Linked DNA regions of Homo sapiens: all the other regions are linked to region 3. Evidence: promoter capture Hi-C in 16 types of primary human blood cells and fetal thymus (Javierre and others, 2016). All regions are on one chromosome and are shown on one strand. Each heading gives the region's core, a stretch centred on a gene start or on the middle of the fragment in contact. The rest is flanking DNA. Distances are from core to core; before and after follow the strand shown. Region 1 overlaps LOC107985239 (a long non-coding RNA gene). Region 2 overlaps GS1-204I12.4 (a long non-coding RNA gene). Region 3 holds the start of RNF2 (ring finger protein 2). Region 4 has its middle 6.4 kb from the start of HMCN1. Region 5 overlaps LINC01350 (long intergenic non-protein coding RNA 1350). Region 6 has its middle 28 kb from the start of HMCN1.

Evidence for each region. Contacts are between HindIII fragments. The CHiCAGO score rates a contact against its expected background, and 5 or more counts as called.
Region 1: a contact is called between a fragment that was not itself captured here and the fragment with the promoter of RNF2 in region 3, in 9 of 17 cell types (total B cells, naive B cells, naive CD4 T cells and 6 more). The highest score is 10.5, in total B cells.
Region 2: a contact is called between a fragment that was not itself captured here and the fragment with the promoter of RNF2 in region 3, in 1 of 17 cell types (neutrophils). The highest score is 5.3, in neutrophils.
Region 4: a fragment that was not itself captured here is called in contact with the fragment with the promoter of RNF2 in region 3 in 1 of 17 cell types (neutrophils); the score reaches 6.6 in neutrophils.
Region 5: a contact is called between a fragment that was not itself captured here and the fragment with the promoter of RNF2 in region 3, in 1 of 17 cell types (fetal thymus). The highest score is 6.3, in fetal thymus.
Region 6: a fragment that was not itself captured here is called in contact with the fragment with the promoter of RNF2 in region 3 in 1 of 17 cell types (naive B cells); the score reaches 5.2 in naive B cells.

The regions. Positions count from the first base shown.
Region 1 is chr1:185,674,255-185,678,751 of GRCh38, forward strand. All of the region lies in intron 1 of LOC107985239 (a long non-coding RNA gene), which reads left to right. Among named protein-coding and RNA genes, the nearest start is that of GS1-204I12.4, 30 kb to the left of the region's middle. The HindIII fragment of the contact is 1,193 bases long and covers 1,850-3,042 here.
Region 2 is chr1:185,652,911-185,657,348 of GRCh38, forward strand. GS1-204I12.4 (a long non-coding RNA gene) reads left to right here. Exons shown (of 3, transcript NR_188649.1): 2 at 2,093-2,300; 3 at 3,567-4,258. The region is part of intron 1 of LOC107985239 (a long non-coding RNA gene); the gene reads left to right. Among named protein-coding and RNA genes, the nearest start is that of GS1-204I12.4, 8.6 kb to the left of the region's middle. The HindIII fragment of the contact is 3,789 bases long and covers 1-3,754 here.
Region 3 is chr1:185,043,150-185,047,472 of GRCh38, forward strand. It overlaps RNF2 (ring finger protein 2), which reads left to right and starts at 2,409. Exons shown (of 7, transcript NM_007212.4): 1 at 2,409-2,500. RefSeq lists a silencer at 2,039-2,298. The HindIII fragment of the contact is 4,610 bases long and covers 1,073-4,323 here.
Region 4 is chr1:185,725,928-185,730,051 of GRCh38, forward strand. No RefSeq gene overlaps it. Among named protein-coding and RNA genes, the nearest start is that of HMCN1, 6.4 kb to the right of the region's middle. The HindIII fragment of the contact is 4,781 bases long and covers 1-4,111 here.
Region 5 is chr1:185,563,836-185,568,040 of GRCh38, forward strand. The region is part of intron 2 of LINC01350 (long intergenic non-protein coding RNA 1350); the gene reads right to left. All of the region lies in intron 1 of LOC107985239 (a long non-coding RNA gene), which reads left to right. Among named protein-coding and RNA genes, the nearest start is that of LINC01350, 63 kb to the right of the region's middle. RefSeq lists a silencer at 1,788-1,988. The HindIII fragment of the contact is 1,536 bases long and covers 1,585-3,120 here.
Region 6 is chr1:185,704,084-185,708,453 of GRCh38, forward strand. No RefSeq gene overlaps it. Among named protein-coding and RNA genes, the nearest start is that of HMCN1, 28 kb to the right of the region's middle. The HindIII fragment of the contact is 480 bases long and covers 1,489-1,968 here.

The DNA.
Region 1 (4,497 bases), core at 1,196-3,695, 630 kb after region 3:
TTGAAAGTAGACAACAGCTAACATTAGTGTTCCGTGATGACGGGAAGTGGAGACAATGCAGCTGCTAAATGAGTCCCTTTAAATATTGACATGACTGACTCTAGTGCGACATGTTTAGTAGGAAGTGGGAGAGGAAGTAAAAATAGACCAAAGCAAACATTTGCTCAAGATAGACGAAGAGCAATACATCCTCTCTGTGCCCCTCCACCCCTATGAAAACATGGCTCTAAGCTTCTGACAACTTTTTTTCTCCCGTTTCTATTGTTATGGTCATGGTCATGATTTAGCACATTCTGGTGACTTTCATATATGCTCCTCTGACCAAATTCTAGATAAATGTTTTATGTTTACATTGTCACAACTCTTCAGGAATGAAGGTTACTCTCTCCCTTCATTAGAGACCGAAAATAAATGTTCAGCAGTAGAATCTTTTTCAACATTACTTTAAAAACGCAATCTCAAGGGGTCTCAGTTTTAAAGATTATGGAATTATGTATAGACTCCTACAAAATAAATGGGAGAAGTGGAGGCAACTGCTTAGGTTCCTGAGGACAGATATTGTTTTTCTGAAAGTTTTAGTTAATTGAAGCAACAGTCAGTAAGATCTGATGCAGTTGGACGATAGCTCTGTTCTCTACTGTGTCTTTCATGCATGATGTGGACAAAAATTCCTGTAGAGAAATTGAAAAACAGAGGAATGAACAGAACATGAAAGAAGTTTCTTTTATCTCTCTTTTAATAAGTGAAAATAATGGGCTATGAAAGTTAACTCACTCAAACTATATAGGATGTTAGGCAACAATTTTTCTATGTAAAGTAACTGAATTCATTGCATCTCAGTTTCTGTTGTCTGAGAAAATATTCCTAGAGGCATGTCAGGTAGGATTTGTAGAAAGATGGTAAACACTTTAAGAAGGGTCCACTTATTTCTCTCTGTCTCTTCTCATTGTGCTGAGTAGATGCATTTAGAATTAGATTGCATTAAAAATTTTTAAATGGTAGGCATTCATTGAGCGAAATGATAAAAATTCTTATTCTCTACTTAACTTTCTGCTTCATTCTTATTTAAACTGCACATTTTATTTAAAACTAAGTACCTAAAAATGAACAATGTGCTGGTGAGTGTATCCGTTCTTCTGCCTAAGCACACCTTGGTAAGGAATGATAGTAATAAACCCTGAGAATATATGGGAAGTGCTGTTCTAAAATGAAATCATAAAACTTACACAAAATGACAAGCAGGCAGCTTGAAGGAGAGGGAAATGGTTCTGAAATATGGGCAGAATTCTGGCTTACATCTTGGCACTTTCAGGAGTTGCAGTATGGAAGAAAAAGCAGAGTTCATGTGAATTATTTGAATTTTGCTAACTGGGATAGGCTGGGGAAGGTGTGTCATAGTCAGATTAATAGCATAGGCTTTGAAACTTGACCAGCTTGGGTTTGAATTGTAATAGGCTCTACCCTTCTAGAGCTGGTGTAAATAAAGTGCTTAGCACAGTGTAGCATGCAGCAAGTGCTGAATAAATGGTACCTCTATTCACAAGGGAGCAGATACCGACGTGAAGTAATCTGATGTTAACTGGTAGAGTTCTCCTGTCATCCACCCTCAGCATCTCATTTCACAGTATATGAAGTGCCATCTTAAGTTTTAATTTCTTCACATCTTAAAGCCTTTTTAATCTTCCAAAAGTCAATTTTAAAAGGCTCTGGATCTCTTCTTATCATTAGCTAGTATAAATAGAGGTCAGTTTAATTTTCTACTATGTATTTTAAATGATCAAAATGACAATTCATTTTATTAATAATTACTAAAAGTACCTATATTTTTGGAAAGTATACATCCAAGATAAGCTTATTAGGAATTAGCTGTGTCACAGTGTTTTTCAAATTGTGTTTCACTTTATTATACTATCTATGATATCTGCTTTGTAAAAAAAAGTTGCCATAATCTAATAAGGTTGAGATATGCATACCTGAAGACTCACAATGCACATCAGCATATTAAAGTTCTGAAACTATTCTACAGAAAAGAAACCTTTGCTTAACCTAGAATTTTCCAAACCAATTTGACTAGAGACTACTGTTGTTAGACAACATCTGTTAATATGCCATAGTTACATTTTGGTTTAAGACTACATTCTAGTTTAAGAGATTATTTTCCAAACTTAATAGTTAACTGGGAAAGTCAGACTCTTTAGGAATAGAGCATAGATTAGGCACTTGTGACAAGTGGATAGCAGAGAGGATCCTAAAAGGGAAGGCAAGAGGATGACAGTGAACTCTGTCCTACATAAAAAGAGCAGAGAAGAGATTCATGCAACTATTAGTCTACTTATAGTTTAGTTACATGCTTAGCCACTGACCTGTGTCTAACTTAAATCAGTGAACTATCTGCTTCCCAGTTTTTTCTCCATCAAATGTCAGGGGGCAAGGTGAGATACCTTCTAGGGTTCCTTCTAGATCAGCTATCCTAGTCTTTAACTATTTTGTTTTGAAAAAAAGTATGGTATTTTTTACTTTGGTGGCAGTAGTGGTGGTATACATTTATGTTACCTTTATAGAGGTCTATTTGTTTTCTTTCAGGAAATCTAGACTGTCCTATACATCAGTGAAAAACTTTGATATAAAGAATTTTAGTCTTTTTTATAGTTTGAAGAATACTGCTTATTATAGCTCGAAGTTTCCATTTAAATATGTTTTATTAAAGCAAAAACTGAATTAATTTAAGTTTTTTTTAAGTAGTGGGAGTTATTTTAGGTGGACCAGATCAACTCATGATTTCATTGTTTCATCTTTTATGTCCACTTGGCTTACTGGCAAACAAATGGAATTAATCTTTAAACAATGGAAGAATTAGAAGATACCTCATGCTCAGTGGCTAACTGGAATTACTCCATAAGCCAACAATTGTATTTCACTAATGTGTTCGCTGTTGACTCAGGTTATCATGGTCTTGGAGAGGGATTGTTGTATTTTCATACAACCAGCCCTGCATGTCAGGTGGTTAGCTTTTGTTTTGAGATGAGCTGTAGAGGATTCAGAAGCTTTAGGGACTTAATAGCCATAAAGTGGGTTGGTTGACAAAGGTGCAGAATAAAAAGAGAGATCTAGAGGGCATTACTAACTTCTGAATGAAAGGTATGCATATCACTGGATTTTTACAGTAGCAGGTGATCATGAGTTACTGTTTTTAAACTTGCTCACTTTTGCCTTACGTAAGGGAGGTATTTTGATAAAATCCATGGTTACATTGTAAAATAATTATTCATCCATTAAAGCAATTCCAATGGTACTATTTTAGACATAAAGCATACCAATACTGTTTGTAGCCAAATTTAATAATGATACTACAAGAATTATTTTTCTACCCAAGAACTTTTTTTTTTCTCTTTTCCCTCCTTCAATTCCTGGCATGGGAGAGAGAATAATTTCTGTAAAACCGAAGTCTTTTCTCAAGACAACGTGATTATGCAGAACATTAGGTCTCCTTTTTTACCAAACAGGAAGTGCTTTGAACTTGTTGGATGATAACATGTCAGCATTTATTTTTGATGAACAACTCAAGAATATGAAATTGATTTGAATTAAAAATTATTTAATAAGTTTCATTTAATATTCATCCTTTGGAGCTGTAGTCAGCTCCAAATGAACTCTAATAATCTTTAAATCTGTTAAATCACTTTAATAATCTTCATCTTTTTAATTTAATTGATGTATTTATTGTCTTTTAATATCCAGAAAGATGACCATTTCTTACCTTGGAGAAAGGACATTAGGATTATATACCTCACTGGCTGAGTTTAGAAAAGTAGTAATTATCTTTCAGTGATAACAAGTGTATAGCTCATAATAGAAGAATTCATATTTCCTAAGATTTTTAAAGAAGTACTGCTCAATTTAGCAAAATTGTTACAGTTTTACAATTGCACCTCTTCTCTTTTTAGGTGTTAAATTGCATTTGGACTTTTATGGCTAAACAAAACAAATATTTCAAGAGGTAAGAAGGTACATGATGAACACACTTCCTTAGTTAAATGAAAATAAAGGAGTTTTAAAGAGGAAAATTGAACTAACCAAGTTGAAATAAGGTCTGAGGAAAATCTAGATCTCAGACACAAAGGAAATCTTTATCTTTTAAAAAATTCCAAAAGGCTTGCACTTATACCAAGCTTTTGAGTTGAGAATAAAGGCCAAATGCAATAAATTTAAAAAAAAAACCTGTTGGAAATGTTTAACGATATGCATGGAGACATATTCTTCAATCCAGATATGAGCTTGGAAATTTAATATGAAGCTTGTATTACTAAATGTGCAATTATAAAAGGGAGGATGTGCAGTGGCCTAGAATTTTCTGTACATGGGCTTGGACTTTGGGGAATGGAAGATTCGTGTTTGAATTCATGAATTCATGAGTTTTGTCATCATGTACACATCATGTCATTTGAGCAGCCTTAGCTTCCTCATCTGCAAAGGGACAAGACTATCAATTATTGCACT
Region 2 (4,438 bases), core at 610-3,109, 610 kb after region 3:
AATTTAAAAATCAACACTAGATTTTTTATTTTATGTCCTTCAAATTATTCAGACAATTCTACTCGTCTTAAGACTGTAATAAAAATTCCTATCTCCACAGTGTGGGAGAATTGTCAAAGAAGGCAGGATCCTCTTCTGATGTAGTAGGTTGGTGCAAAAGTAATTGCGGTGTTTGCTATTTCAATGGCAACAAGGCACAATTACTTTTGCACCGACCTAATAAATGTGGGCTTTGATAAAGCTACTGTCACATACAACTTGAAATCATGAAGAGGCCCTCAGGACAAAATCTAGGAGTTGATTGAGAAAGAACAAATGGAAAGTTTGTGAAAGCAGAAATCTTCAAGTAGGATATTTTGTTTAAAGATGGGAGTGTTATGGGAAAAGGCAGAAGCCATTTGACTCAACCCTATTACTGAAGGCTGAAAAGAACATATATTTTTTAAAAATCTACCATTGAAGTAGTTTAGGAAAAATGTCTGTGAGCTGCAAACCCCCAAAGGAAAAGAACTAACTGAGAGGAATACCTCTGGAAGAACATGTTGAGATGACTAGGGTACAAATTGGGCCTGAAATTCAATGTTTATTCTGGAGAGACTAGATAAACACTTAGTACTTTAGCAGTAGTAGAACTAAAAGAAGGTACTTAAATTGGCTTAGGGTAGAAGTAGATTGCAAGAGCTCAGCCTTGAATAAATTAAATTAGTCAATTGTTTTACTTACTTATACATAATATGTACCCTGTATTTCTTCATGCTAATAGATAATATGATTTTTGCAATTTATCTGCCCTATGAAACATTTTATGGAAGACCTCAGGTAGGAAGGTTATTTAAGAGGAAAAAAAAGCAAAAGGGACAGATATCAAGGTGGAGATAGCCAAAAAACTAGAGAGCCTTTCCTGTGAGACTGCCCAAGACTTATTTCTTCTTTTTTTTTGCCTTCCCTTCCCTTCCTTTCCCTTCCATTCCCTTCCCTTCCCTTCCCTTCCTTTCCTGTCCTTTCCCTTCCCTTCCCTTCCTGTCACTTCCCGTCCCTTCCCTTCCCATCCCTTCCCTTCCTCTTTCAAGACAGAACAGAGTCTTATTCTGTTACCCAGGCTGGAGTGCAGTGGCATGATCTCAGCTCACTGTAACCTCCACCTCCTGGGTTCACGTGCTTCTCCTGCCTCAGCCCCCTGGGTAGCTGGGGTTACAGGTGTGCACCACCACACTCAGTTAATTTTTTGTATTTTTTGTAGAGACAGGGTTTTACCATGTTGGCCAGGCTGGTCTTAAACTCCTGACCTCAAGTGATCAGGCTGCCTCAGCCTCCCAAATTGCTGGGATTACAGGCATGAGCCACTGTGCCCAGCCCAAGGCCTATTTCTTTGCAATAATTTACACAGTAAAATCCAAGATTAACACTTGAATTATTGCAACGCATTCCTTCCATTTTTCCTTCCTTCCTTCTTTTTTGCCCTCACTCCTTTTCTTCTTTCCTTCCTTTCTTTCCTTTCTTTCTCTCCTCCCTCCCTCCTTCCCTCCCTTCTTTCCTTCCTCCCTTCTTACCCCTATCCTTTTCTCTTCCCTTCCCTTCCCTTTCCTTCTTTCCTTCTTTCCTTTCTCTCCTCTTTCCTTTTTTTTTCCTCAAAAAAATTTAAAGAAGGTTTAGGGGCACCTATGTACTATTTAAAAAAATGATAAAGAATGTGAGGAAGAAAATGTCCATGAACACTATTTTAAATGCCATGTCTTAATATCAGTTTCCCTTGTTATTTTCCTAGCCAGTCTTTGTCAGGGAAATAGCAGTCATTTTCCTAAGCCTAAATTTAACAGACACCTGATAACTCTGTATAGTACTTGCTGATAGGAACCGAAGTAAACAAGAGTGACGCATAGCAATGTTGTCATTTCTACTCTACCGAGTCCATGTGGGTATGGAGATAGAAAGAATGTGACTTGATTGAAAAGGAATTTGTTGTTGAATGAGAGGTTAAACTATGTTCTTAACTTTTAATCCTATGTGCAAAGCCTTTTAAATAATTTGGAAATAATATTACAAAAGGAACAATTTAACCTAAGTTAGTTGTACTCTACCATTTCTTTTTCAGAGAGAAGAATCAGTAGAGCTACATTTTCTTGGCACTCCAAAATGTGGATTTCAAAACTGTTAGTTCAGAAGTGTTCAACTTTTGCTGCCCACTGGAATTATCTGGAGAGCTGCAAAAGGACACTGATGCCTGGGCTGCACCTCCTAGAGGTCTTGATTTGATCAATCCAAAGGAAGGCCTGGGCAGTAAATTTTTAAAAGTTCCACAGGTAATTCCAAGTTGGGAACCATTGGTAGCTGGAGTAGAAGACATTTATTAAGTAATGACACAAAATGAGGTTTGGGACAAACTTTGTATATCAAGTGAAGAAATTTATCCTGTAGGTAATGGTCAACCTTTGGGGTAGACAGATAAGTGCCATAATTTTGTTAGTTTTTAAAGTGGATTGACATGGGGAGCATTGAACAGCAGGCTTCAAGTGTTGCCCCCACAGTTCATGATCCTGCAATTTGCAGGCTTGCTCTCATTTCTGCAGTCGCTTTCACATTTTGATTCTGTCTTCCCTCCCTTGTCTCTTAAACTCTGGTAGTCTTGTTAGTATGCCCTACTGTGGCATCTCCATTAAGCATGATTTGTTCTATTCAGGACTTTCTCTAAGTTATACCATTAAAGAAGTTTCCTAAACCTCAATAATTGTTTGATAATAAAGGTAAAGCCTTAAGTCTATTTAGTCTCTAAGTCTCTTCAGTTTTGAATATGTATATATGTGCGTGTGTGTATATATATATGTGTGTGTATATATAGATGTGTATATATATGTGTGTATATATGTATATATATGTGTATATATGTGTGTATATATATGTGTATATATATGTGTATATATGTGTATATATATGTGTGTATATATGTGTATATATGTGTGTATATATGTGTATATATGTGTGTATATATGTGTATATATGTGTGTATATATGTGTATATATATGTGTGCGTGTATATATATATATATGCTACTCTTTTAGAAACACGTTTCTTTTTCAAATAACCTAAAACTGACTCCTTTTCAAGAAAAATACAGTGAATAGATTTTTATTTTACATTAGGAAATGTATGGTTTATAAACTGGAAAATCAAATGGCATTGATTTTATCAAATACATTACAATGAGAATCACCTTTAAAAAATAACTACTCTACTTAATTTAAGCCTCGAGAGAGTCCTCATTGCCTGGACCAGGGACTTCCTTAAGAAATATTGGTTAAATAAATGTGTCAGAAAAAATTATGAAAGTCTTTAAAATGAGCAAAAAGGGTTATTTGTGTCTATAAAGGTCTATATCTTTCCAGAGTTATTTGAGTCTATAAAGGTCTATATCTTTCATTGTTTTGGATCCATTTTACAACTCTGTAAATTGAAAAAAAAAACTGATAGTAATGCAAATTATTTTGTCCAATGGAAATGAAAATGAACTTCATCCATCCTGTAAAAGGCATCTCATTTGCATCTTTAATAGATGTAAATTCATTTTCAGCATTTCTGATGGCCTCACGGATCAGGAGTCTGCAAGACCACCCTCAGGCTTCATGCACTAAAAGGACTCACAGGACTCAGAAAAAGCTGTCATACTCATGTTTGTGGTTTATTAGAGTGAAAGACTACAGATTAGAGTCAGCAAAAGGAAAAGGTGGGTAGGGCAGAGTCTAGGAGAAACAGGACACAAGCTTCCAGTTGGCTTCTCCCAAAGGTGTTGCATGAACAGCACTTAATTATCTTAGCAACAATGTAACACACATGTAAATTTTTGCATCCTATGAATCTCATCTGAGCCTTGGTGTCCAAGGATTTTTATTGGGGTTAGTGACAAAGGCATGCAGCGGCTATGGGACAACATTAACTACTCAGTCTCCAGCCCCCAGAGGTCAGTGTGGTTCAACAACTGATGCAGTGCGGTTCAACAACTTAGACGACAAAAACACTCCTGGCAGGCAGGAGATTTCAAGAGAGCTCAGAGGTCACCTCCTGGATGTCAGCCAAGGACCAGTCCTTTTTTTTTTGAATGTGCAGGGTTTGAGTAACCCAAGACTGCTGTGTTAACCTTTTTCTGGACACCTATATACATATATTTGTCTGTTCTTTGGATTCTCCATTGAACTGGGTATTGCTGTTACTGTTTTTGCCTTCCTAGTTCCTCATTAATGGGCTAAAATAAATCTTTGACACGTTTATGTTTGCATATGAGTCATGATTTTACTTTGTTTTTGTTTGTTTGTTTGTTTGTGTTTGTTTTTTTTTTTTGAGGCAGGGTCTCACTCTCGGTCAGGCTGGGGGGTAGTGGTGTGCACTCACGGCTCATTGCAGCCTCGACCTCGTGGGCTCAAGTGATCCTCCCCCCTCATTTTTTGA
Region 3 (4,323 bases), core at 1,159-3,658:
GTTCCAGGGTGGTACAGCTACAAGATGGTGGTGTCTCTATCAATCTGGTTCCTGGAGTGACCAGAACAGAGTGAGTTGGATCCACATGAAGCATGAAGCATAACCAAACAATAACTTTTGTTGTGTTAAGGCATGTAGATTTTGGAGATGTTTGTTACTATACCATAACATAACCTTTCCTGATTAATATAGTCAGAGAAGATCCAGTGCCAAGTTTCTGAGTAAGAGATAAAATAGATAAAATGAGTTCCATTAATTTGTCAGTAGTGTTTTTCATATTAAGGATGTTAGCCTGAGGTCTAGCTTTTTAATCACATTTAATCCAGATATCCCATAAGTTTTCCGTTTTTCCACTAATTCTCCTGTGAGTCTTTTTTAAGCACTATATTTAACTTTCATCCATAAAGTTCCTGCGCTTTCTACAAATCATCACTTTTCTCAACATCAATTGAATTGCTTAATCTAACCACACATCATGATTTTCAAAGGCATTTTAATTAGAGCAAAAGTTCTAAATTATGAACACCTGTCTTCCTTTAATTGAACTACACATGCACTCGTCATGAAGGAAGAAGGGAGATGCTTCTGCAACTGCACTGTTTCTAGAAAGTGGACTTTCACAAGAAGGGAGAAGCAGAGCTTCCCTGATTATTTTGATTTTGTTGTTGTTGTTGTTTTGTTTTGTTTTGAGACGCAGTCTCGCCGAGACACCCAGGCTGGAGTGTCATGGCGCGATCTCGGCTCACTGCAACCTCTGCTTCCCAGGTTCAAGCGATTCTCCTGCCTCAGCCTCCCGAGTAGCTGGGACTGCAGGCGCGTGCCACGACACCTGGCTAACTTTTTTTTGTATTTTTAGTAAAGACAGTTTCACCATATTGGCCAGGCTGATCTCGAACTCCTGATCTCAAGTGATCCGGTGGCCTTGGGCTCCCAAAGTGCTGAGATTACAGGCGTGAGCTACCACACCCAGCCTTTTTTTCTCCCCCCACATTGGAGGAAGAGTTTAACCTTGAAGGGCTTGTAGAGTCAGATAACTGTCACTTGTTATTTAAAGTTATAGATAGTAGGCAAAAGCTTTCAAGCCACTGAAAAAGAATAATGCTTGTTTTCTTTGATGGATTGTTAGGTAGCATATATAATGTGCTGTATTTAACACCTGTCCTTTTTCTTTCCACCCATCCAAGGCGTCAAAGGCCATCTTAAATCCCGGCTCCTCAGGAAATCATCCCCAAACACACCAGCTGGAATTGATATTTTTCTTTTCCAAATTCCTATGTAAATTCATGTCATTTATTTGGAATTGCTTATAGAGAGTTTCAGAGCGTTAAAGAACTGGAAAGGACCTAGGATTCAATACAATTCTCTCATCTCGCAGACGAAGAAAATGAAGTGCAGAGGAGCTACGCAATCTACGTAAGTCACATAGACACACATTGGAGGCTATGAACCTAGTTTGCCCAATTCCCACTGCAGTCCATTGGTTTATGCCTCTATGCCTTCAGATTTACGGTCTGGTATTGCTGGTTATCTTCTCAAGAGAACATGACATCTCAACAATAGTACATATAGAGATCAGGGAACTTTCAATTCTTCGTTACTTCTTCAGCTCATAATTTATATGCATTAAATGTCGGATAATTTACTGGAGACTAACTGGCTGTGTTTTAGGTAATGATTACATCTATTAATCTATTACTTCGTAAATCCTCAAGTTCAGAAGGTAACACTGGAAGGGGCCAAGGAGGTAGGAATAAAGCAGCAGCAAGGTAAATAGTAAGAGCTGATGACCACAATCAGAATGTTAAGCTAAGTTTAGAGTGGAAGGTCATTTTCCCAGGAGCAATTACACTTGCAGTTTTATCCTGCAAGGATGAAAAGTGTATGTTTGTTGTACGAGAGCGGAAGGGTGCCGAAGTTCATGTGAAGTTCTGCAAACCAAAGCCTGATGAGGATTTCCGCCGGGTGGGACAGGTTTAAGAGGACGAACTCATGAGAAAGAAGTCTGAGCCCAAACCCCAGAAGCCGGCCAGGAAGGTGTAAAGGGTGGGCCGAAGCCAGGGCAGAAGAACCCAAGCAGAAGGTTGAGCACGAGGTGGCTGCGCCGTCATCCGGGCGTTGCCCGGGGGCTACGTCGGACCGCGGTGGGCGCCGGGGGGGCGTGGCCGGCCAGCCCAGGGCGGGGCGGTGGCGCGGGTTCTCCAGGCCAACACGCGGCGGCGCACCCTCCCTCGCGCCGCGGGCCTCCCCGCGCCGTGCACGTCCTCGTCCCGCGCCTCCGCCCCTCGCTCGCTCGCTCCTTCCCGCCCTCCCCGCAGCGCCGGCCGAGCCGGCTTCCCCTCAGTCTCTCATGAATATTGAGCGGCCCCTGTTGTATTTCCCGAGCTCCATTGCGGAAGCTGAGGCTCGCCATATTGTGCGGCGGCGCCGGCGTCCGCGGCAGCTGATACCAGAGTCTTGCTCCGGCCGCGGCCAGCGGAGCCCTGGGCTGGGGCAGGAGCCGGTGAGTGGGGCGGGCGGGGAGGCGAAGGACGCGGAAGCAGCGGGCCGGGACACGCGTCTACTCGGCAGCGTTGCAGGCGACTGACGGGGGCCCCGGAGTGTGGGGGGGGTGTGTGTCCGCGGGGGTGTGAAGGGACATGGCGCCGCCGCCGCCCCCGGCCGCTCTCGCGGCGGAGACGGCGGGTGAAGCGGGTTCTCATTGTTCCCGTGTCTTCGAGGGTCGTGGGAGGGAAGGGAGCTGGTTTGCGGAGGACCCAGTCAGCGAAGCGCCGGGATTCCTTCCTTCGCCGCGAGCCTTTCGCTGCCCTTTCCTCTGCGCGGAGGCCGGCGCTGCGGCGCGGTCCCCTCGCCTCCGGGGGCGGGGGCCCCAGCCTCTCTGCAGCCCTACTCCGGAGGCGGACGGAGTGGAATGCGAGTTTTTTCTCTGGGCTTTCGCCTCGCAGCTAGGGATGTGTGTCTGCATCGTGGGGGTGGGGTAGGGGGCACTTTGTGCAGATATCGCTCCTTCCTTCTGGGGGGTCGGAGTCGGGGTTCCAGTGTAGAGGAGCTCCTCGACCTCGGGGTTCCTCGGGGAGACCCCTTCAGCTTCACACATTCCTGGAGTGCCGCCTCCTGCTCTGGAGTATCTGTTGCTGCTTTCTAAAACCGTGAGCTTACCCAGGAGGAGTCGTGGGGGGAGGGGGTGTCTTGGTTAGTTTCTGCGGGAAGATTCGCGTTTTGAACCGTGTCGTTTACGCTGAGATGCTAGTACCCACTTTTGCCGGGAGCCCACGTCCTGCTGGTCAGAATCGTTTACCTTCTACAGAAGTCTCCTTCTTGCTTTCAGAGATGGTGTTAGTAAAAATTGATCTCAAACTTTGAGGTTCATTCCAGTTATTTGCCCGCTAAGATCAATTATAGACTCATCTATTTGAAGCCCCTTTGGGTATCTTTTTCGAGGCTGTCGGAAGTTTTAGAGAATGTAACTTTACATTGTAAAATGATTTGAAGATGTCAGGTTTCTTTGAAGTGCCGTGAAAAGGATATACATATGCACTCAGTATTTTAGTAATACGCTGTTTTTCAATTAAAAAAATTAAGGCATGGTTTCAGTGTTCTAAACCGAGGATATGTTTAAAACGAATGTACGAGCGATTTGCATTACATAATCTACTTTTGGTAATTCCAAGATGATCAGCTGGAATACTTAGTCTAATTGGTAGCTAATCTATCTGTTTTGTATTAAGTGCAGTTGTTGAATATTCTAATAACTGAGGTGGGTGTGAGAGTTTGCTTCTTATAGTGAAATTTGATCCTTGGATTTATAAAGTATTTAAATAGCAGCAATATGACTCTTGGTTATTCCCTTTTTCCCCTGAAATTTCTACTTTTCACAATCAACAAGTATCTTTAAAAATCTTGATTGTACTCTTAAACTACTTTTTAGCAAAATAATAGGTAGTTATAGGTGACTCCTTTTTCTAGGGGTAGCACAGCAAATATGGTCCCTCACTTTTTGTAAGGATTGTAGTTATTTTCCTCAGGTATCCTTGTGGCATCCACATTTGAGGTTAATTATAGTAGAGGCAGATTTACGAAGAAAAATTGCCCGAGTCAGGCCAATCCGTTTGAGTATTTGAAAAATAAGCTAGTTGTCCTAAAGTGTGTTGCATAGAAAAATTTCCAGTTACAATCACTAACATAATGTAGACCATGCAGACTTTCAAAATACTGGGAATTTGGAGTTTTTCTCTGCCTGTGTGAAGCTCCCAGGTTTGAATGGATAGAAATATAGACCAGGTCAGCAAACATGTTTGGAATTTTATTAGTGACCTACAGTTTGTG
Region 4 (4,124 bases), core at 471-2,970, 680 kb after region 3:
ATTTACATATATACGTATATATATGTGTATATGTGTATACATATAAGTATATATGTGTATACGTATATATGTGTATATACATACACATATATGTATATGTGTATATATACATATATACACACATATATATGTGTATATATACATATATACACATATATATGTGTGTATATATATACATATACATGTATATATATATATATATACACACACACAAAATATGCTTAAAGTACTCAGATGGCAGTTATTATGGTTATCATTATTAATCATAATGAATTCAGCAACTCATCAAAGAAACATTATTGAATTTCTACTGTATAAAAATGAATAAAACACTACGTGTTTATAAAAATGAATAAAACACAGCCCTTATTTTCAAGGAGCTCATGGCATTGGAGGAAAAATATGAAATTACTTTGAATTTGTAAATAAGCGAGAAAGCTCAGAGAAATACTCATGAGCAGGAAAAGCTCATTCAAGAACAAATAATGCTTCATGGATAATTCACAAAGCAAAAAAAAAAAAACCAAAACTCTGTCTTTTTTTTCTGAAAAGATCAATATAATTATAATGTATGTATCATATTAATGATGAAACTTTGCAATATACTGTAAAGTAATTGTATATTTCAAAGTTTAAAAATTTTCAATTTTACTATAAAGTCATAGGGAAAACATAGACTAAAGGCAAAAGAAGGAGAATAAAAGTGAAGGGGAGAAGAATGAGCTGTGAGAACAGATGACTTAACCTCTTTGTGTTAATTTCATCTTTAATTTCCTCTTCTATGAAATGGGGATCATTCTATTAACTATCTTACAGTTTTGGAATGAGAATTAAAGGTGACAGTGCATTCATGCATATAAAGCACTTAAGGCTGGGTGCGGTGGCTCAAGCCTATAATTCCAGCACTTTGGGAGGCCGAGGTGGGTGGATTACTTGAGGTCAGGCGTTTGAGACTGGCCTGGCTAACATGGTGAAACCCCATCTCTACTACAAATACAAAAATTAGCTGGGCATGGTGGCATATGCCTGTAGTCCCAGCTACTTGGGAGGCTGAAGCAGAAGAATCACTTGAACCTGGGAGGTGGAGGTTGCAGTGAGCTGAGATCATGCCACTGCCCTCCAGCCTGGGCAACAGAGTGAGACTCTGTATCAAAAAAAAAAAAAAATACATATATATATATATATATATATATATATATTTCACTTAAAATAGTGCCTGGGACATGGGTACTCAGTAAATATTAGCTATTACATCTGATAGGTGCAAGAGTGATCATCACAAGCTCAAAATATACTTCTGCACTGTCTCAAATTTTTTTGTGTGTGAGATCTTAGACAAGTCATCCTCTGGGCCTCAGTTTTCTCTCTGTATAAGGTCCTAGCGTAGAAAAACGATCTTTAAAATTTTTTCCAGCTTTTGAATTGGGGTAAAGGAGCAGAAGAGACTGGGTATGAGAGTTACTTGGGCCCTGACTTTATGGAGGTAGCAGCTGCCTGTGAGAGGAGCGGGGAGGTTTGAGAGGACATCTTGAGAAGGGTCATTGAGAATAAATTTTAATTTCTTCTGTCTTTTTTTCAGAAAATGAAGCAGAGATATTTTTGGTTGGAGTCTTTATTCCTCATTAAGCATTCAGTTAGGGTTTACAAGACTTTTCCTCAAGTATTATGAGGACAGCCTGAAGGTCTTGATCTTTATTTGGGGGTACGTACACTGGGATGGAGAGCTGAGGTCCTTGTAGAGAGGACCACAACTGATAAACAAACCAGAATCACAAGTCCTAGAAAACTAGGGCCCCAGCTGAGCCTAAAGAGTGGCTCCTTTTGGACAAGCTACCAGACTCATGTTTTCTACGTCCTCTTGGATTTGTTGTGAGCCAGTTTTCTCTTCTGAGGCAGCATACTTCCTGTTTTATGATGGGAATGTTGCCTATATAAGGAGTAAAAGACTAGGCCCTTGGTGCTTTTCCCTCTTCCGCTTGTTCCCCTCACTGACCAAAGGCTTCCTGGCTTCATTAAAAAAAAAAGTAGAAGCTGAGTATTACATTCCCCAAAGTATGCCATGAGAGTTATTCTGTGCTTTTTTCTCTTTAGTACCAAAGGAGAATAAGAATGTAAACATCTGTTTTATATAAACTAATTCCAGACTTAAACTTGATTAGTATAAGAGAATATTCTATGTGATTAGTTTTCCAGTTATAACATGATGGCTTTCTGTCCTTTTATTGCCTTCTTAAAGGAGAAAAGAGAAGAACAAATAATGTTTCTTTTTTTTTTTTAAGTGTCATAGAATTGCCAAGTATAACCATTATGGTTGGTGCAAAAGTACTGTACTTTAAATTCAATGGCAATAGCAAGTTACTTGCCCCGTAGAAATGTACTAAAGTAAACATAAAATAACTGTGGGCCTCATTATGTAGAGAAGAAGACATTTTGGGAAGGATCATTGAGAATAACTTCAAGCCATTTAGTGATTTGCAGGAGGCAGTTTACTACAAAGCAGTGTTTTTGCATACTGCTTTACAGCAATCATCTTCACAACCCTTATTAATTCAAAGTTTTTCTAAACTAGGCTTTATCAGGCCCTGTGTGATGAATGCTTCCAATTAAATGATCACTTAAAATAACAGTAAGCACAGTCTTCTCCAGAGCAGGTAGAAGAATTTCAAGGGAGAAAACTGAATTGGAGAGAGGATTTTAGCAGTGACATTATTGGAAATGTGCTGGACTACTTAAAAAACAATGTTACCTTGTCCTTTGCCTCATTCCCCCATCCCCACCATCCAATATAACATTAATGATGAGAATCTATGCAAGGAGACTTTTGAGAATAATTTGGTGATTGTTATCATGAAACTAGAAATGTTCCATAATCTGCTACATGTTGCTGTAAAATCTAACATTGTGTATGTAAACTTTAGAAGTGGCAACTCCATTCTCTGCTTTCATTCCCTTCCTCCTAGGACTTCTAAGATCAAGGATAGATATCAGTTCCTGATAAACTGAAAAGGTCTTTTACTTTTCTCTTTTCTCCCTTCTCTGTCCTCATGGCCTTTAAAGGGTATTTTTGGTTTGTGCTTCTTTGGAGTTACCTATGCAGCTCTTTTCATAAAAAGTGACTGAAAATTACCAAATCATGTTGATCTTGAATTCATGTCACTCCTTGCATTATCCATTACTATTATTTTAGTTCACCTCCTTGTACTTATAGCCAGAAGGGAGCTTTGCAAACAGTGAACAGCAGAGGCTCTGGAGTGAGATTGCTTGGGTTCAAGTCTTGGCTCTACTGCTTGCTATCATAGAATTTAGGCAAATTGCTTAACTCTCCAAGTCTCAGTTTCCTTAGATAAAGAATGTCATCAATATTTTTATTGCAACCTACTCCTATTTTTCTTCTTTTTTCCAATTTATTTCCCTTATTCCATCTCTCACACATCAAGTGGTTTTGTAAAGTATAAATCTTTTTACTCTTCAGCTTAAAGTCCTTTGGTGTCTTTAGGATATAATCCAAACCTTTACAACTGGTATCAAGGCTGCTGATGATCTATGCTTGGCTCCCTTTTGTACTTTCTCCACACTTGAACCTTACCTGCAGTTCTATAAATGGGTTATGTCTCTTCACCCTCAACCCCAACTGAGGCCTGGTAAGTTTCTACATATTCTACACTTACTTGAGATGCCATACTTTCTGGAACACCTTACCTGATTTGCCTTTCCTGAGAGTGGTGCCTGTCCTATTTGCTTCCTTAGAATGCTAGGTTTAGTCTTTCAGAACATTCTTAATCTGTTTGCTCAGCCCTACAAAACTGTAAGTGCCTTGAGGGCAGGGACTGAGTTTTCTCTCTCTAGTACATAGTATAATACCTGGCTAAATAACAGTTATTCCAGAAATTTCTTGAGGAATAAACAAGTAAATAACTGAGTACAGTTTGGGGTTAAGAGACAATAGAGGGTTCAGGTTATTAACTATGCCATTTTTATGGATTTTAATTGCTCTGTCAAATAAGTGGTAATATTGGATAATACCCAAGAATTACTTGGATTAGGTCAGTTTATTGGATACTTGTCATTCACCACTTCATATATTGTTATTCCTGGGCAATACTTTCACTTAAGCTTCACTGTTG
Region 5 (4,205 bases), core at 1,103-3,602, 520 kb after region 3:
TGTTATAGTCCTTCATATGTTATTATTATATGAGCTTTATAATAATATATAAAGGAATAAAATAAATAAGGTTCTGGTTCTGCCATTGATTTACTGCATGATCAGTGTGGGCTGGGAGTAGGGTGACCAACCATCCCTCCTTTGCCTAGGACTGAGAAGTTTCCAGGGATGTGGGACTTCCAGTTTTAAAGCCAGGGTGAGCTGTTCAGCTGAGCTCAAGGGAGTAGCCATGGACCAGGCAGGGGTGAGTTTTTTTGGTGGCCCAAGCCAAGTGTATATTGCAAAAATATAGTGAGCAAAATAGTGGGTCAAGAAAAGGGTCAGAGGAGAGTTAAGGGGCAAAGCTGAAGTTCACAGCCACCCAAAGTTTTAGACAATGAAGAGTGTTTCTGCAAGGAGCCAAATGAAATTAGAACAAGCTGGGCCCATTCTAGGTGAATAATGAGGTATGGTTCTCCCAGGAGTTCTAGAATAGTCAGTTGGCTACTGTAAGGGTCTTCTCATTCCGTTCCCTCTGCTGCAGGGACCACCTGCTCCAGGACTTACAGAGCCAATAGAGAAAGTCAGCACTTTCCTTCAGGGAAGTAGATTATTTTCATCGTATGCAAGGGATAAAGTAAACATTGGGGTTTAACAATGAACTTTTGTTTCTTATTTTCATTTTTGAAAAGTACTGAGTATTTAATCTTATGAGTATATAGGAAAATTGGGTGGTATTACATGACACTCCAAAATGCTTTCCCTAAAAGTTACCCTCCCATGGATGAGAGTGGTCTGATGGATAGTGGTGGTCTGTGATTTTACCCTACTCTTTCTCTATGAGAAGAGAGGCTCAAGTTTCCTTCTGGATCTAAATGGGTAGAATATGTGTCCAGCCCCTACGGGGTATATTGCCTCTCTCCATCCTCTGGCAGGAGAGGTGCTACTCTGCACCGTGGTATATTTACTTAGTGTACTATATACGTTAACAAATTTAAAAATGTATAAAGTGGAGATTTATGAATACAGAGAAAATAGGGGTAGGGAAAGAATGGTAAATCTAGAAGTGAATCCACAAAATGCATGCTGAGAGGTTCTGTATGGTGGATGGGCAAGGGCCCCCAGTTGGCTTTGTGCCTAGAGAAAAACATGGTCCAATAAGTGAATCAGTGTCCATAAGATACAACAAGCCAGTGCCAGAAGACAAGCTCAATGCTTCTTTGTATGAAGGCAAGAGGGAAGTTTTTCCAGTGGGTTTTCCTAAGGAGGATACTTCGAAATGTAATGAGCCACATTCTCAATAGTATCTTGACAGGCATTTCATAGAAGTGCTTCCTATAATGTTCCTCAGATAAAGGCTGATGGCATAAATTCACAGCTCAATTCAATAAAAATTCCTATCTTAAATTCTTTACAGAACAAAGTAAGGTATGAATATACACATTTTTAAAAGTCATCAAAAGATGGCAAGAACTAAATGAGACAGTCTAGGTATGAAAATCTCTGCTGGCCTGGAACCACCCAAAGACAGATTTTAGAGTATGCAGTGGAATGTCTGGATTTTCAATCCTTCAGGCAATTCTCCGTAATGGTGTTTCTAAAACAAGCTTTTGAAGTATTGAAAGCAATGAGTTTGATGGGATCCTGCCTGACACATACCTCCTGGAATTCACTCTGCCGTGTGGCTGATTATGTCCGGAACCCATTGATAATTCCTCATGTCAACGTTGGGAATGCAAGCACAGACAACACCTAAACAGAGGCCAGCCTGCCTTTTCTTGGAGGTGGGCCAAGGAATGGTTATGGGAGCGTGAAAGCTCTTCTCACAATTCTAGTTCTTCCCCAGTGCATGGAGTAATGGAAGGGCCCCAGCATTCTATACCTGTAGAACATTATGGTAAGAATTGAAGTATGCGACAAAAGTTAAACTCTTTTTGAGTTCTCTTGGTCCATGGGGAGCTGAGGTTCTTTTTTGACCGGGCCTCAGATACATCTCTTTGGCTTCATTTTAACACTGTTCTCAAAATCACCTCAGAATGGTACCTGGAACCTCCGTTTAACTCACTCCTTGGTTCTACTTTGGTTGCTCTATGACTGTCCCACCTCCCTCACCCCCCTCCTCCACCCCCCATGCTCTGAGCAGCTTGGCCTATGTTTTCCCTTTATCTCTCTCTTTGTTTTCTTTCTTTTGGCCCACCCTCCCTCCTCCCCTCTCTTCTTTCCTTCCTTCCTTCTTATGCCTGCCTTTCCCCTGCCATAATTCATACCTAACCTCACAGGCTCTTTCAGAGCTGTTAAGTAAAATTCTATAAGTAAAAACGCTCTGTATAATTTTTTTTCACCTGCTGCTCAACCTACCTGGTGACCCAGAGCTCCAATTTCTCATAAGAATTGCCACTACCTCTCTTGATTAAATTTTCAGGTTCATATTTTTGCACAATTGTTTTTTATAAACATGCATGAACACAAATAGGATTATTTATGTGATTTATTTCAGTCAAATTACTCTGATTCCAACCAATCTGAAGACATCTCCAACTTAACCATGGTTTTGGACATGATGCGGTGGGGGGGACAGTAAACCATGTTTTTTATTATATCCTGTCTTTGACAGATATTAGGAGACTAGACCAGTATGGAGTGAGATGACATTGTTAGTGATTTTTTCTTGGGATGCTTATCACATTGTACAGAATCTCATGTTGATCTTTCTAATTTTTTTTGTAATCCATGCAAGCTGTATATTTCCTTGTAAAAAATTGATATTTGGGAAAATATTTTTACCCTGAGAAGTTCCCAGAAATAGAGATTTTCTGAATCTTATGAGCTATGAGACATTTAACCAAAGAAAATTTTCAAAAACTATTTTAAATGGAAGCTCCATATATATTGTGCTTAATTTTGTCAAGAGACATAGTCTTAGGAGCACTTTTGACAAAATATCTGCTGTTCTGTTGATAACCTTGAAGCTGACCTCTTTCCCATTAAAGAATTAACATTTGGAATTTTTATATGAATGAATAAAACTGCAATGTCACCTTCCATTTAAGCAATATTTTTCACTTCTTTGGCATTTCTAGCCAGTCTTTTTTTTTAATTTGTGTCCTTGAGGTAGTCATTCATTTTGGATCTTAAATATCAAGCTTTCAGCATTTGTCCTTTTAGAGACTGTGTCATGAGGCTGAACTCTAATACTTGAAAATGATTAGAGTTTGCCACTTTACAACCGTTCTGATAGTTCATCACCTGCTTGGATTTCAGCTTACTCTGTAAATTCAGGTACTTAATACCTGACTCTGAATAAAAATATTTTGAAGTGTTTTAGCAACCAAACAAACCATGCAATGAGAAAGAGGTGCAGACGACTCGCTTGTGGTTATGGTTGTCAAGGAAACCATTTCCGTATATAGTGTTTGATAACAGCCATGTTTTTTTAAAGGCCATAAAAACAAAGCTTGTCCAGAAGTATGAAGAAGAAAGCATACAATGAAATAAGCCACAGCCAACTAGAAGTTATGAGAATGCATTAGATGCAAAATGCTAGATATCAATTGATGAGATGTTTTACAACATAGAAATTAAACTCAAGAGGGATAACATGTTGAAAAGTGTGGCAGAATGGGGGTGGCAGCAAAATGCCCTTGTTGAGGCAAGGTCAAAGTCTCACTATGTTCTCAAAATATACTGTGTGCATTTTTAGAGAAATTGTTTAATTAAACAAACAGCTTCATCTTTGCCATACACAAACTCGTGGAATGGAATTTAAACAGCTTTGATAACATAATCAGTGAGAGGCTTGAATATATTGCCCAGCAATAGACTAGATTGCTAGAGCTACACAAGCTGCAGGAAATGGAGAGCTTATTTGGGGGTTTTGTCTAGTTTATGCTACGTTTTGCTTTAAAAGAGAAATGAACTGTAGTGCATAGTGATGCTGAAGATCTTTATGGAGGAAAAAAGATCCTAAGATGTTGATTATGGATAAAGTCTATTTTGAAAGCTCTTTCTCAAGGTCTATACATATAGAGCAAAACCCCAAGGAGGAAAAGATGGCTGGGTATGGTGACTTATGCCTGTAATCCCATCACTTGGGGAGGCTGAGGCAGCAGATCACTTGAGGTCAGGATCTCAAGACCAGCCTGGACAACATGTGAAACCCTGTCTCTATTAAAAAAAAAAATAGCTGGGCATGATGGTGCATGCCTATAATCCTAGCTACTCAGGAG
Region 6 (4,370 bases), core at 479-2,978, 660 kb after region 3:
AGATTAGAATTGTCCACACCTTTGTTTCTTCTAAATTTTGGGTATGTAAGCCTCTGATAATTCACATGACTTAATTAAGCAGAAATCTGGCTCCAAGTGTTGCCAGATGGTCACTATATGGATGAGTAAGACATTAACAAGGTGCAAAATGGGCTAAACCAACAAGCCCATTCCTTCAGAGTCCAACTTTGTTGTTTATTTCCCCTGGTGGCAGGAAAACTGGAATGAAACCATATCTCGTATGTGCGATGCTAGCCAGACATTGTGTGCATGTGGTAACAGGAGCCTTATCTCTCAGACCATTAATAAGGATTGGAATAAGCAAAGAAAGGGAAGCCAATAGCAATTGTTAGAGTGATTTTTGAACTCATTACTCATACAGCTGTATAAGAGACTTTAGAACTTCAGCCGACTTATCTTGCTGCAGCAAGTGGCAGTTGTACTTGCTCATGCCAGTGGCCTGAACACAAGAATGCTCAGGTATGAGAAAACACATAGAAAAGGCTGCTATAAGAGATTAATTAGAAAGTGATCATTCATGTTGCTAAATAATTTTTCACTTTCTAAAATATTAACTATGGTAATTATTTTTTCTACTAAGCTTTCTCAAAGCTACTAACATAATTTTAAGAAAATGAAAACCATGAGTTGCATGCAAATATAAAATAAACAAGTCAAAGATTCTATTCAGCTTATCTATTAAAGAAGGAATCAGTAAGATGTTTATGCTGGTTGCAAAAGCATTTGAGGACTTAGGCATTTATAAGCAATTTAATAAAGGAATGTCAGGATAAGATTGCTACACTGCATTAAAAAATTCTGGTTAATATCCTACAGGATACCATTACCTTTGGGATAATCTGTTCCACAAGCCAGACTTTATTTTCATTTTTACTGGACAAAAATTTATAAGTTTCGTGGTAATGTCACTACGTTTGAGACTTTTAATCAGTAGTATATAGTAAATCAAATTATATTCTCCTGGATAATCCCTTGGGAAATCCCTTGGGTAATCCCTTGGGTAAATCTTAAACCCATAAAATATTGGAAGAACTTGCAATCTACTTTTTTGTTTCTTCCTTTTTTCAATTTTGGATGCGTTTCCTTATCAGGGCATTTAATACATTTAAAAAATTAATTATGTGCTTTTTTACGAACATAGGCATTATATAAATATGTAATAACCATCTGGGGAAAATCAAATTATTAGATAAAAATAAGAGTTGTATACAGAATGACAAGTACTTAGAGGAATCCTTTGAGATGAGGTAATATGGACTGAAGCCCCCCTTGGATTTACTGCTACTATTTATTGAATGCTTACTATGTGTTGGTTGTCACATTAGGTGCTTTATAAACACTATCTCTAATGACTTTGAAAATAATTCTTTAATGATAACTGAAGAGCTGGGAGTCAGATAACTTCCTGAGGTCATACAGTTACTGAGTATAACAGCCATGGCCCAAACTCTGACTGTTGAGCTCTAAAGCTTGTGCTAACTTCTGTGCTCTGCCTCTTCTCACCATATCACTACAGGGGTAAGAATCTTACAATTTTGCATATTTAATTTTAAGCATAAATATTGACCCCTAATACTTGTTTCAGTATCAAACCTGGAGCTGATATTTAATGGAGATTTACTGATTGCTAGACACCGTGCTAGTGCCTTGCCCTAGCTGTCATATTTAATCATCCCAACAACCCCATGAGGGGGATCAAAAAGCACTATTAGTTGCAGGTTATGACAAAACACAATAACATTTAACTAAAGCACTATTTACTATATTTAAAAATTCTCCAAGTATCTTGTGTCATGTTGTATCTATAAAAGAGAGTCTCTTTCTCTCTCATAGTTTACAATTCAAGAGAGACTCTGTAAAAGTGAGAACATATTGACATACATAAAACTATGTAAACATGAAACAGAAACATAGATTAAACAGAGATGTAGATCATGTACCATTAAAAGCTTTCCTAAAACATTGTGAACGTTTCATAGAAAAAAAATGTATCAATGGTACCTTCTATCTTTTGGGAAATCATGAGCTTGCTTTATTATGATAGTGCAGAGAATAGTTGAATAATTTGGACTCTATGACTCTCAGCCCTAAATTCAGAAAGTGTAGTTATATACCCCAGTGTTTTTTATTTTTTTAAAAAAACCTCTAGGCAGGAGATATTTTGGTAGGACACAAGACCACAAATTTGTCATACTATTCATATTTTATTTTCTATTTTTACTATAGTGGATAATCCCCAAATAACTATTATGGAGTTAATCTATCACCATCTCCTTCCTATATCTTTTCTGAGGGAAGGTTGGAATTAATGGATGAAGATATGTAGACATCTATGGTGTTCTGGGAAGCTGAGCATGTCTGATATAAGGCATGTGAGGTTTAAATGCATGCATGTGTTAGATATGTTGTCTAGCCTTTCTAGCCCACTAACTATAAACTACATATCTATCTTATGTATCTATTGGTGTGGAAACTTTACTGTATGGGAATTTGGAGAATCTTAGAGTCAGGAGAGATCTTTAGAGATCATCACATCCAAATGCTTTTTCGAAGAAGATATTTGTTTCACACCATTGCTGATGTACAGTTGTCCATTCAGTCATAGAGAACTAGCTATCCCTCCTTGGGCTCTTTATGACTTACAGTATATTTGTTTCCGGGAGCTGCCATAACAAATTCCCACAAACTGGGTGACTTAGAACAACAGAAATTTATTATCTCACAGTTCTGGAGGCTAGAAGTTTGAAATCAAGGTGTTGGTAGGGCCACGTTACCTTGAAAGCCTCTAGGGGAGGATCTTTCCTTGCTTCTTCAAACTTCTGATAGCCCCAGGTTTTCCCTAGTTTATGGCAGCATAACTCCAATCTCTGCCTCCCTCTCTACAGAGCGTTCTTCCTGTGTGTCTACCTCTTCACATGGTCATCTTTTCCTCTCATAAGAACATCTGTCATATTGAATTAAGGGCCCACCCTAATGACCTCCTCTTAATTTGTTTACATCTGCAAAGATTTTATTTCCACATAAGGTCACATTACAGGAACCACAGGTTAGGGCTGCAACATATGCTTTTGGAGGTCACAATTCAACCCATAACGCTCAGTATAACCAGAAGAGCTAAGTGGAGACTGGCTTAACCTCCTAGCCTTACATCTTTCTCTCATGCTGGATGCTTCCTGCCCTGGAACATCAGACTCCAGGTTCTTCAGCTTTTGGGACTCAGACTGGCTACCTTGGCCTATTGTGGGACCTTGTGATCATTCGGATTCAGGGCAAGGGGAGGCTGAACAAAAAAAAAGATGGCCAAATAGGAACAGCTCCAGTCTACAGCTCCCAGCATGAGTGATGCAGAAGACAGGTGATTTCTGCATTTCCATCTGAGCTACCGGGTTCATCTCACTAGGGAGTGCCAGACAGTGGGCACAGGACAGTGGGTGCAGTGTACCCTGCGCAAGCCGAAACAGGGCGAGGCATTGCCTCACTCGGGAAGTGCAAGGGGTCAGGGAGTTCCCTTTCCTAGTCAAAGAAAGGGGTGACAGACGGCACCTGGAAAATCGGGTCACTCTCACCCTAATACTGCGCTTTTCCGACGGGCTTAAAAAACGGCGCACCAGGAGATTATATGCCGCACATGGCTCGGAGGGTCCTACGCCCACGGAGCCTCGCTGATTGCTAGCACAGCAGTCTGAGACCAAACTGCAAGGTGGCAGCGAGGCTGGGGGAGGGGTGCCTGCCATTGCCCAGGCTTGCTTAGGTAAACAAAACAGCCAGGAAGATCGAACTGGGTGGAGCCCACCACAGCTCAAGGAGGCCTGCCTGCCTCTGTAGGCTCCACTTCTGGGGCCAGGGCACAGACAAACAAAAAGACAGCAGTAACCTCTGCAGACTTAAATGTCCCTGTCTGACAGCTTTGAAGAGAGCAGTGGTTCTCCCAGCACGCAGCTGGAGATCTGAGAACCGGCAGACTGCCTCCTCAAGTGGGTCCCTGACCCCTGGCCCCCGAGCAGCCTAACTGGGAGGCACCCCCCAGTAGGGACAGACTGACACCTCACATGGCGGGGTACTCCTCTAAGACAAAACTTCCAGAGGAACGATCAGACAGCAGCATTCGCGGTTCACAAAAATCCGCTGTTCTGCAGCCACCGCTGCTGATACCCAGGCAAAAGGGTCTGGAGTGGACCTCTAGCAAACTCCAACAGACCTGCAGCTGAGGGTCCTGTCTGTTAGAAGGAAAAGTAACAAACAGAAAGGACATCCACACCAAAAACCCATCTGTACATCACCATCATCAAAGACCACAAAGTAGATAAAACCACAAAGATGGGGAAAAAGCAGAGCAGAAAAACTGGAAA